Linked DNA regions of Homo sapiens: all the other regions are linked to region 2. Evidence: promoter capture Hi-C in 16 types of primary human blood cells and fetal thymus (Javierre and others, 2016). All regions are on one chromosome and are shown on one strand. The core of a region is centred on a gene start or on the middle of the fragment in contact, and the rest is flanking DNA. Distances in the headings are between cores, read along the strand shown. Region 1 has its middle 1.8 kb from the start of TRH-GTG1-5. Region 2 holds the start of H3C2 (H3 clustered histone 2). Region 3 holds the start of H4C9 (H4 clustered histone 9).

What was found. Contacts are between HindIII fragments. The CHiCAGO score rates a contact against its expected background, and 5 or more counts as called.
Region 1: a contact is called between a fragment that was not itself captured here and the fragment with the promoter of H3C2 in region 2, in 11 of 17 cell types (activated CD4 T cells, non-activated CD4 T cells, total CD4 T cells and 8 more). The highest score is 16.1, in activated CD4 T cells.
Region 3: a contact is called between a fragment that was not itself captured here and the fragment with the promoter of H3C2 in region 2, in 14 of 17 cell types (erythroblasts, naive B cells, fetal thymus and 11 more). The highest score is 18.6, in erythroblasts.

The regions. Positions count from the first base shown.
Region 1 is chr6:27,154,722-27,157,923 of GRCh38, reverse strand. No RefSeq gene overlaps it. Among named protein-coding and RNA genes, the nearest start is that of TRH-GTG1-5, 1.8 kb to the left of the region's middle. The HindIII fragment of the contact is 1,152 bases long and covers 733-1,884 here.
Region 2 is chr6:26,030,740-26,033,931 of GRCh38, reverse strand. It overlaps H3C2 (H3 clustered histone 2), which reads left to right and starts at 1,833. Exons shown (of 1, transcript NM_003537.4): 1 at 1,833-2,343. The coding sequence starts at 1,872. The coding sequence ends at 2,282. It overlaps H2AC4 (H2A clustered histone 4), which reads left to right and starts at 314. Exons shown (of 1, transcript NM_003513.3): 1 at 314-840. The coding sequence starts at 364. The coding sequence ends at 756. RefSeq lists a silencer at 357-456 and enhancers at 240-869, 1,807-1,926, 1,967-2,196. The HindIII fragment of the contact is 2,287 bases long and covers 1-1,855 here.
Region 3 is chr6:27,136,941-27,140,020 of GRCh38, reverse strand. It overlaps H4C9 (H4 clustered histone 9), which reads right to left and starts at 739. Exons shown (of 1, transcript NM_003495.3): 1 at 343-739. The coding sequence starts at 712. The coding sequence ends at 401. It also overlaps a transcript of H2BC12 not described here. RefSeq lists enhancers at 1-190, 191-783, 546-925. The HindIII fragment of the contact is 264 bases long and covers 1,383-1,646 here.

The sequences.
Region 1 (3,202 bases), core at 59-2,558, 1.1 Mb before region 2:
TTTCCCAGCGTGGTGGTTGTTTTTGGGGGTTGGTAATACTGTGCTTGTAAACTCATTATTCTCACTTCTATCTCCAACCCACGCATGTTTCTTGCTCAGTTTAGCAGTGTGGTCCTCAGATCTTTGGCAACAAAAGGAAGAGGGCGCTGCTTTGAAGTGGACCTGCCAGATCCCATTTTTTGCCAAACTAGTCAGAATCTTCGGGGGCTTGGCATGGAATCTGGCATCTCGACAGGTGCCAGAAGTGAGTTTCTCATCACGAGGAACTATGTGGCTTCGTCCTGACCCAGGTACCTATGAGAAGCCAGTGAGGCGCTCGCGCACTCAGCCTGCCCACCTGAGCCGTCAGGAAATGTCCGGCGGCGCTCGCACCTCAGAGTGAAATTTCTTTCTCCCTTTCATACCTAGTTTGCCAGAAGAGGGAGATAAAAGTGCCTCTCCTGTGGCTCCAAAGCTCCGTGGGACTTCCCTCCTGCCCCGCTTGCTGTTTTAGGAACGTAGCCTCTAGAGTCAAGGTCCTGGTCGTGTTTTCCCCTTGATACCAAATGATTTTCTTTCTGTAAAATCATTCTGGTCTTAAACTCCTGAACTCAACTGATCCGCCCCTCTCGGCTTCCCAAAGCGCTAGGATTACAGGAGTGAGCCACCGCGCCCGGCCTCTTCTCTTTACCTGGTTAAATTTGTTTAATGCTTCAGCTTCAACTCAAGAAAGCTTTTCAAATCAAGGAAGCTTTTCTTGACCTCCCGTCTCCACGCAACACATGGTTCCTTGGTTTTTTTTTTTTCCTTCCCTCCCTTCTTTCCCTCCTTCCTTCCTTCCTCTCTCCCTCCCTCCTTCCCTCTCTCTTTCTTTTCTTTTCTTCTTTCCTTCCTTCTTTCTTTCTCTCTCTCTCATTCTCTTTCTTCCTTCCTTCCTTTTCTTTCTTTCTTTCTCTTTCTTCTTCTTTTTTTTTTTCTCAGAGTCTCGCTCTGTTGCCCAGGCTGGAGGGCAATGACACAATCTCGACTCATTGCAACCTCCACCTCCCGGGTTCAAGCGATTCTCCTGCCTCAGCCTCCCGAGTAGCTGGGATTACAGGCGTAAGCTACTACGCAGGGCTAATTTTTGTATTTTTATTAGAGAGGGGGTTTCACCATGTTGGCCAGGCTGATCTATAACTCCTGACTTCAAGTGATCCACCCGCCTCGGGCTCCCAAAGTGCTGGGATTACAGGCGTGAGCCATCATGCCCGGCCACTTGATTCTTTTTCACTTTTCCTTTAGTGCTCTTATATCAGTTTGTAATGTATAATACCAGAGTTATTTGATTAATGTCAGCCTCCATCCTCCCGCTCCATATGCCCCAAGACGAGGAATATCTATTTTGTTCAATAATCTATCACTAGGGCTCCCCATTTGGTAGGTTCTTTATCAATATAGTTTGGCTGCAGAATGAATGAATGGGTGGGCAGAGACTACCATCCAAAGCTCTATGAAAGCAACTTCTCCCAGCAGCATCTGGCCTAGTTCAGCAGGCTTGCCTTTTGACCTTTGATGGGAAAAGATTGGTAATAATTTAAAGAAAGGTTGGGAGGTCAAGACAGGAGTATTGCTTGAGGCCATGAATTTGAATCAAGTTTGGGCAACATAGTGAGACCCTGTCTCTACAAAAAAAATAAAAAAATTTAACCAGGCACAGAGGTGCATGCCTGTAGTCCCCATTACAAGGGAGGCTGAGGCAGGAGGATCACTTGAATCCAGGAGTTTGAGGTTGCAGTGAGCTATGATTGTGCCTCTGCACTGCAGCCTGGGCTACAGAGCAAGATCCTCCCTCTAAAATAATAATAATAAATTTAAAAATGAAGGGAGTTCAAAATTACCCCTGCAGCTATCCATAATAAAGCTTCTCAGCAGAGCCAAAATAATGTGCTTAATTTCCTAAAATTTTCTTTATCTCCTTTCCTCTGTCTGGATTACACAAAAGTATTCTAATTACTAATAGGTTTACTGAATGAAGAATTACCTGTTTCCTAGCATCATTGTTATTATTATTATTATTATTATTATTATTATTATTATTTTATTTTATTTTATTTTTTGAGATGGAGTCTCGCTCTGTCGCCCAGGCTGGAGGGCAGTGGTGCGATCTTGGCTCACTGCAACCTCCGCCTCCTGGGTTCAAGTGATTCTCCTGCCTCAGCCTCTTGAGCAGCTGGGACTACAGGCGCGTGACACCACGACTGGCTAATTTTTTGTATTTTTAGTAGAGACGGGTTTTCACTGTTTCAGACAGGATGATCTCGATCTCCTGACCTTATGATCCGCCCACCTCCGCCACCCAAAGTGCTGGGATTACAGGCATGAGCCACCGCACCCAGCCCTAACATTAATTTGTTTGATCAGGGAAGTGACCTAAGGGCTTTCTCAGTCTCAAAGACATGAGCTCCATCAAAGAAAATGCAGCCAGTAAGAAGGAAATGCAAGCTGCCTCTGTCTCAAGTCTCTTTGAGTTAGATCTTTCCTTTTCCTTTGCTTAGGGCCTTCCCCAACCCCATTTAGAAAGCTGCTGTGAATGAAAGTGCTTTTCAGCATTTTCTGCTGGGATGTTTTTGGAAATTGGGTTGATCTGCATGTGCTTCTCCATAAAAAGAGGGAAAAGCTGTATCTTTGATGTCATAGGCCTAGAAAAAGGCCTCTTTCCTTGTGCTTATTTTGGAAGGCCATTTTGAAGATTTCATCTGACACATTCACTACAGTGATTCTGGGAAGAATAAGAGACAGGCTGGCACAGTTGAACCTACCAGTTCTACCTTTACCAATGCCATGCACTCTTCTACTTCTGAATTTCTAAATTTTCTGTAAGAAATAATTAAAAGCCCTCTTTCTTTCAAGGGCATAGTTCCAGCAATATTTTCCTCTTTCTCCTGTATTATTAAATAAAATTCTATTTGATCTCTATAGGATCTTTCGCATCAGCATTCAAAGCTGCTTTTATTTCTTTCATCTGAAAGAATTGTTCTCTTGCTTTCACTTTTCCTTTCTGCTATTGATAGTACTGTCTTTCAGTTTATAGCCATATTTCCTTGAAGTGTCATCAAACCCAAATCTTCTTTCATCTCATTTCTTTATTACACTCCTTCATCTTGCTTTCTTCTTCAACACTCCACTTAAACTGATCTTTTACATTTCACTAGTTGAAATGGCTATGTTAGTCCTCAACTTA
Region 2 (3,192 bases), core at 584-3,083:
ATGAGTCACAATCCGGGAAAAGCACGAGCGGCTGAAAGTCAAAATAACCAGAACAAAACCTCCACTCATGCTTAAAAAAGGTATTTTGACAAAATCCTAATTCGGCCAATTATTATTAGTATTCAAGTCGAAGGCTCGTCAAGCCAGACTGGGGATTGGGTCAAACATAAACCTTACACCAGACGGAAGGATTACATGCAAATGAAGGATGCAGATTCTGATTTCCCATTGGGTATTTGACATTAGCCAATGGGAGAATTCCTCACAGCCTACCTCCAGTCAGTATAAATACTTCTCTGCCTTGCGTTCTAATGTAGTTTCATTACATTTTCTTGTGGCGATTTTCCCTTATCAGAAGTAGTTATGTCTGGTCGCGGCAAACAAGGCGGTAAAGCTCGCGCCAAGGCTAAGACTCGGTCTTCTCGTGCAGGTTTGCAGTTTCCTGTGGGCCGAGTGCACCGCCTGCTCCGCAAAGGCAACTACTCCGAGCGCGTCGGGGCTGGCGCGCCGGTGTATCTCGCGGCGGTGCTTGAGTACCTGACCGCCGAGATCCTGGAGCTGGCGGGCAATGCGGCCCGCGACAACAAGAAGACCCGCATCATCCCGCGCCACCTGCAATTGGCCATCCGCAATGACGAGGAGCTTAATAAACTCTTGGGGCGTGTGACCATCGCGCAGGGTGGCGTTTTGCCTAATATTCAGGCGGTGCTGCTGCCTAAGAAAACTGAGAGCCATCATAAGGCCAAGGGAAAGTGAAGAGTTAACGCTTCATGCACTGCTGTTTTTCTGTCAGCAGACAAAATCAGCCTAACAGCAAAGGCTCTTTTCAGAGCCACCTACGACTTCCATTAAATGAGCTGTTGTGCTTTGGATTATGCCGCCCATAAAGATGTTTTTGAGGTGTTTTTAATGGCTTTGAGTGTGGCACTTTTAGTAATTTGTCCTGCAGAAATTAGATCCATAGAAACCTCAGGAATTCTAGGTATGTGGGAGAAGTGCCATGCAGCACAAAACATGTTTACAGGGGTGATTCGCGTTAAGTTTCACACACAGCAGTTACTACATTTTAGAGGAAGGAAATTATACCCATGAGTGCATTCCTAACTATCTTGAATGGAAGTGTTAAAACCCGCATGCCCCACACAAGTTTGAATATGTCATACCATTTGCTGTAGCAATTAATGGCATACACAATTGAGAGCACACACATTACCACTGAACATTTGAGTATGTATTTCCCAAAATGAGCTTTTTTCCAGTTTGGGGATGTTTTGCTTTGTTTTGGGGTGGAGTCTCCCTCTCGCCCAAGCTGCAGTGCAGCGGCGTGATAACAGCTCACTGTAACCTCGAACTCGGGCTCAAGCGATCCTCTTGACAGCCTTCTGAGTAGCTGGGATTACAGGCGAGAGCCGCCACGCCCGGCTAAGAGCATTTTTCTAATTGCCCACACTTCTTATGCGACACCCAGAAAAATACAATTTTAAATAAAGCGCATATGCAAATTTCCCTAATCGTCTCCAATATTCTCTGATTTCTTTTTTATATTTTAACTAGAAACAATTGGAGGTTTCCGCGTTGCTTTGTGTGGTTGTAAATTTTAAGACTTCAGGAAACTTTTCCAGTACAAGACTTGTCCACAGTGGATATAGCAGCTAAGGGGTTAACAAAATGACGTCAGAGTAGCTACGGTAATGGGCAGGAGCCTCTCTTAATCTGCAACCAGGCACAGAGATGGACCAATCCAAGAAGGGCGCGGGGATTTTTGAATTTTCTTGGGTCCAATAGTTGGTGGTCTGACTCTATAAAAGAAGAGTAGCTCTTTCCTTTCCTCCACAGACGTCTCTGCAGGCAAGCTTTTCTGTGGTTTTGCCATGGCTCGTACTAAACAGACAGCTCGGAAATCCACCGGCGGTAAAGCGCCACGCAAGCAGCTGGCTACCAAGGCTGCTCGCAAGAGCGCGCCGGCTACCGGCGGCGTGAAAAAGCCTCACCGTTACCGCCCGGGCACTGTGGCTCTGCGCGAGATCCGCCGCTACCAAAAGTCGACCGAGTTGCTGATTCGGAAGCTGCCGTTCCAGCGCCTGGTGCGAGAAATCGCCCAAGACTTCAAGACCGATCTTCGCTTCCAGAGCTCTGCGGTGATGGCGCTGCAGGAGGCTTGTGAGGCCTACTTGGTAGGGCTCTTTGAGGACACAAACCTTTGCGCCATCCATGCTAAGCGAGTGACTATTATGCCCAAAGACATCCAGCTCGCTCGCCGCATTCGCGGAGAAAGAGCGTAAATGTAAAGTCACTTTTTCATCAGTCTTAAAACCCAAAGGCTCTTTTCAGAGCCACCCACTTATTCCAACGAAAGTAGCTGTGATAATTTTTTGTTGTCTTAACAGAACAAATTTCTAAGGACCCCCCCGGAAAGCATTAGACTATGGTCTTAAAGTTGATTAACAGAAATAACGGTTTGGTCAGTCTTGCAGTGTAGGTTATTTCTGACCTTATTAAGGTGCTATTTGGAGAGAAGCTGTGTAAGTCCACTATCATTCAGGCCTCTAGCTTGCTATGATTAGCATTTGTTTAAACAACTTTGTAAGAGTAAGGGAAAAATCTGGTAAGTAGTTAACTGGCGCTTACTAGGCATTTTTGCAAAGCTTTGAAAAGATTAGAAAATTGTGTCTTGCGAGTTCCAGTGTCTTCCTCAAAATGCTTAGGAAGATTTTCTCAGCTCAATACATAGTCCCCTAGGTTTTCTCATATATTATATATATATATATATATATATATACTGTTAAATTCATTTGGCTGTTAACATTAACCTGAAATTTATTCTGGTGCAAAATGTGAGGCAGGGATCTAACTGGCTCTCATTTTATCCATAGCTAGCTACCCACTTTAAATCTGTCAGTCTGTCGACCAAGCATAATTTAATCCCTTATATATGAATTTTTATATGTGTGGCTTTGCTTGTAAATAGTCTATCTGGTTGCATTGCTTTGTCTCCTCTAGGACTATGCACCATGACATGCCACATTCTTTTTTTCAGTACTTCTTGCCTGTAGTTATTAAAATCTAGAATTTACAAGTTTTAACCATTTTCTTTCTGTTGATCTTGCTTTTCGGTTTTGGAGGTTGGGGATTGAGTACTGGAAGAAAATTTAGAGGGATGGGAATACTGTACGCAAACAAAAGTAATATTTA
Region 3 (3,080 bases), core at 265-2,764, 1.1 Mb before region 2:
CTAGCATTTAGTGGAGCCCATCAAACTCATTATCTCCTGAGACGTATTTGAAGGTCCAGAGGGAAGTTAATTATCTAGCCCGCCCCTATTTGGACCGCAGACCCCTTGGCTTTCTAAACTAATCCGAGCGGTAAACCGGCTGCAGGCAATTTCCAGGCAGCCGCCAGAAGTTACTGGCCAGCAGAGGCTCTTCTGGCCTTGGAAAAATCTCGGCCCAAGGTCACCTGTAGTCATCAGCCCATTTTCGGCGTCGAGTTAATCTTGTAAAATAGGATGACAGAACTCACTGACAATGGCCCTATTAAGAGACTCAGTTTGCAGTCATTTCAACTCTTTTGTTGAAAGCTTAGGGGCCCTAAAAAGGGCCTTTTTAGAGAATGACTGGGCTTCAAAATGCCATTTAGCCGCCGAAGCCATAGAGGGTGCGGCCCTGGCGCTTGAGCGCGTAGACCACGTCCATGGCGGTGACCGTCTTGCGCTTGGCGTGCTCCGTGTAGGTCACGGCGTCCCGGATCACGTTCTCCAGGAACACCTTCAACACTCCGCGGGTCTCCTCATAGATGAGGCCAGAAATGCGCTTCACGCCGCCGCGGCGAGCAAGGCGCCGAATGGCTGGCTTGGTGATACCCTGGATGTTGTCGCGCAGCACCTTGCGGTGGCGCTTGGCACCCCCTTTCCCCAGGCCCTTACCTCCTTTGCCGCGTCCTGACATTATCAAGTGGTCAGAGAACAAAGGTCTGCTGCCTGTGATGGCAGCTTTCTTTTATGGGTAACCTCTGCGGACCAGACTGAAAACCGGAAGAGCTTTGGCGGGAAGTCCCTCTGCATTGGGGGAGGGGACCTAAAAGGGAAACAGGCCTGCTGTGCTCTACTCCCTCTTGTTCTCCTTCAGTCCTTTTTAATCCTCAAGACCTAGGCTGTTTTTCCTTTTTTCATTTAACATGATTCCTGCCTCATAACAAAAATGTTAACATTATAGAAGATACATAAAGCAAAAAGAATGTTATCTCTGCATATATGCATGTTTTCCTTTAACATTATTTGTATGGAACTATGCTATTTTGTGGCATTTTTCTCCTTAATATACAATGGAAATATACTCCATATGCTAAATTCCTAGCAATAGAACAAGATAGACTCATAGAATTTAAAGATCGTTCAGGTATATTGCTAAGTTCTTTTCTACTTATTTTCATTTCTAGTGTTTGGGGTGGAGAATTATCCCCCCAAATATCGAGCTTGGTAATGGTGGGTGTTTTTGAAAATTGAGGGTTCTCAGAAACAAGTCTAAGAATCAAGGTCCCTCTAACTTTGTCCTGTTTCTCTTCCCCAAATACAGGGAGGGACTTTCTCTGGAATTTCCTGATATGACCAAGAAAGCTTCTTATCAAAAGAAGCACAATTGCCTTCGGTTACCTCATTATCTACTGCAGAAAAGAAGACGAGAATGCAACCATACCTAGATGGACTTTTCCACAAGCTAAAGCTGGCCTCTTGATCTCATTCAGATTCCAAAGAGAATCATTTACAAGTTAATTTCTGTCTCCTTGGTCCATTCCTTCTCTCTAATAATCATTTACTGTTCCTCAAAGAATTGTCTACATTACCCATCTCCTCTTTTGCCTCTGAGAAAGAGTATATAAGCTTCTGTACCCCACTGGGGGGTTGGGGTAATATTCTGTGGTCCTCAGCCCTGTACCTTAATAAATTTGTATGCCTTTTCTCTTATTAATCTTGTCAGTTGATTTTCAGTGAACTTTCAGAGGCCAAAAGGGAGGTTTTCTCTTGGCCCCTGCACCAGTAGCAGTTCCTGATATGCCTACAACCTTAACTAATGCTGGGTAGAACCATTTAAAGTAATCTAACTTTACTAATAAGGACTTGATTTCTTGTATATAGAAATAACTTTTCAAAAAGTTAATCAGTTGGTTAGTCAGCACAATACATTAACTATTTCCCCCACTGATTTGAGGAACTTATTATCATATACTGAATATATGAGCCACCGCACCCGGCCCATTTGGTGATTTTCTTGCTACTCTTTATTTTAATGAGTACCTTACAGCAGTGCTTGAAGTATTTTCAAAGTATTCCACTTAAATGTCATAAAGTAAATGAAGATAAACTTTTCATTAAAATACTTTAGAAATTTTTGCATTTATGTTGCAATAAAAGAAAACTTGCCATACACCTTTGGAAAACAAAAAAAAATTGATATGACTGGCTGTAACTTGCTGTAGCTGAATTCAGTATATGTTGTAAAGAGGGTAAGGTAGCATAGGTTAATTGAATACGTTAATCTAAGGGTAAATACAAATTAAAAATGAGAGGCTTAATTATCTGTTGAAAACAAAAGACTTCCCTTTCCTTTCCCATCACTTTCAAAATGTCTTTCTCTGTCCTTTTAAAATGTATGTAAATCCTTTTAATGGCTAAATAGGCCTTATAACTCAGAATATTTTCTCAATGCCTGGAGAGCCATCCCTTTGAAATGTTAATCATTAAAAAAGATAGTGGTCTGTCTCCCAGTTTCCAGCGAGAAAATGGGCTGAACTTTAGCTGTCACCTGACTTCGAATTGCAAAACCTATCCAATGTAGCCATACATAATAAGCAAGATTTCTTTCTGCTTTTGCAACCTCTTCATAAGGTTTCCTGTGATAAGCAACTCTCCCTGGTTTAATGCTTATTCAATAATAAAATTATTTCCTTTGTCTTCTTTGGGAGAAGATTTTAAAATTGTATTTCCCCAACATTAGTTAACAAGTATATTTCTCTACTTGAGCTTCTCACTAATCAGAAGCCTTTTTCTGTATCTGATTTCATGAGTTTTCGCATAGCAATTAGTGACAAGGATAGCAATGAATGGTAAAAGGTGGCAGAGCATGCCATCCCAAAATATGCCATTTTGGAATAAGAATTATTCTGAGATACAGGCAATTTTAAAAAGAGTAGGTACAAGAAAGGCACTTTGACCGTTCCCTTTTACCCCCTTAAAAGCAGGAATTAAAATTCCCCTGTGGAAGATGTCCTCCCTGTACCAAAAGGAAAAGAACATTTTCATCAAGGACAGGAAGTTGA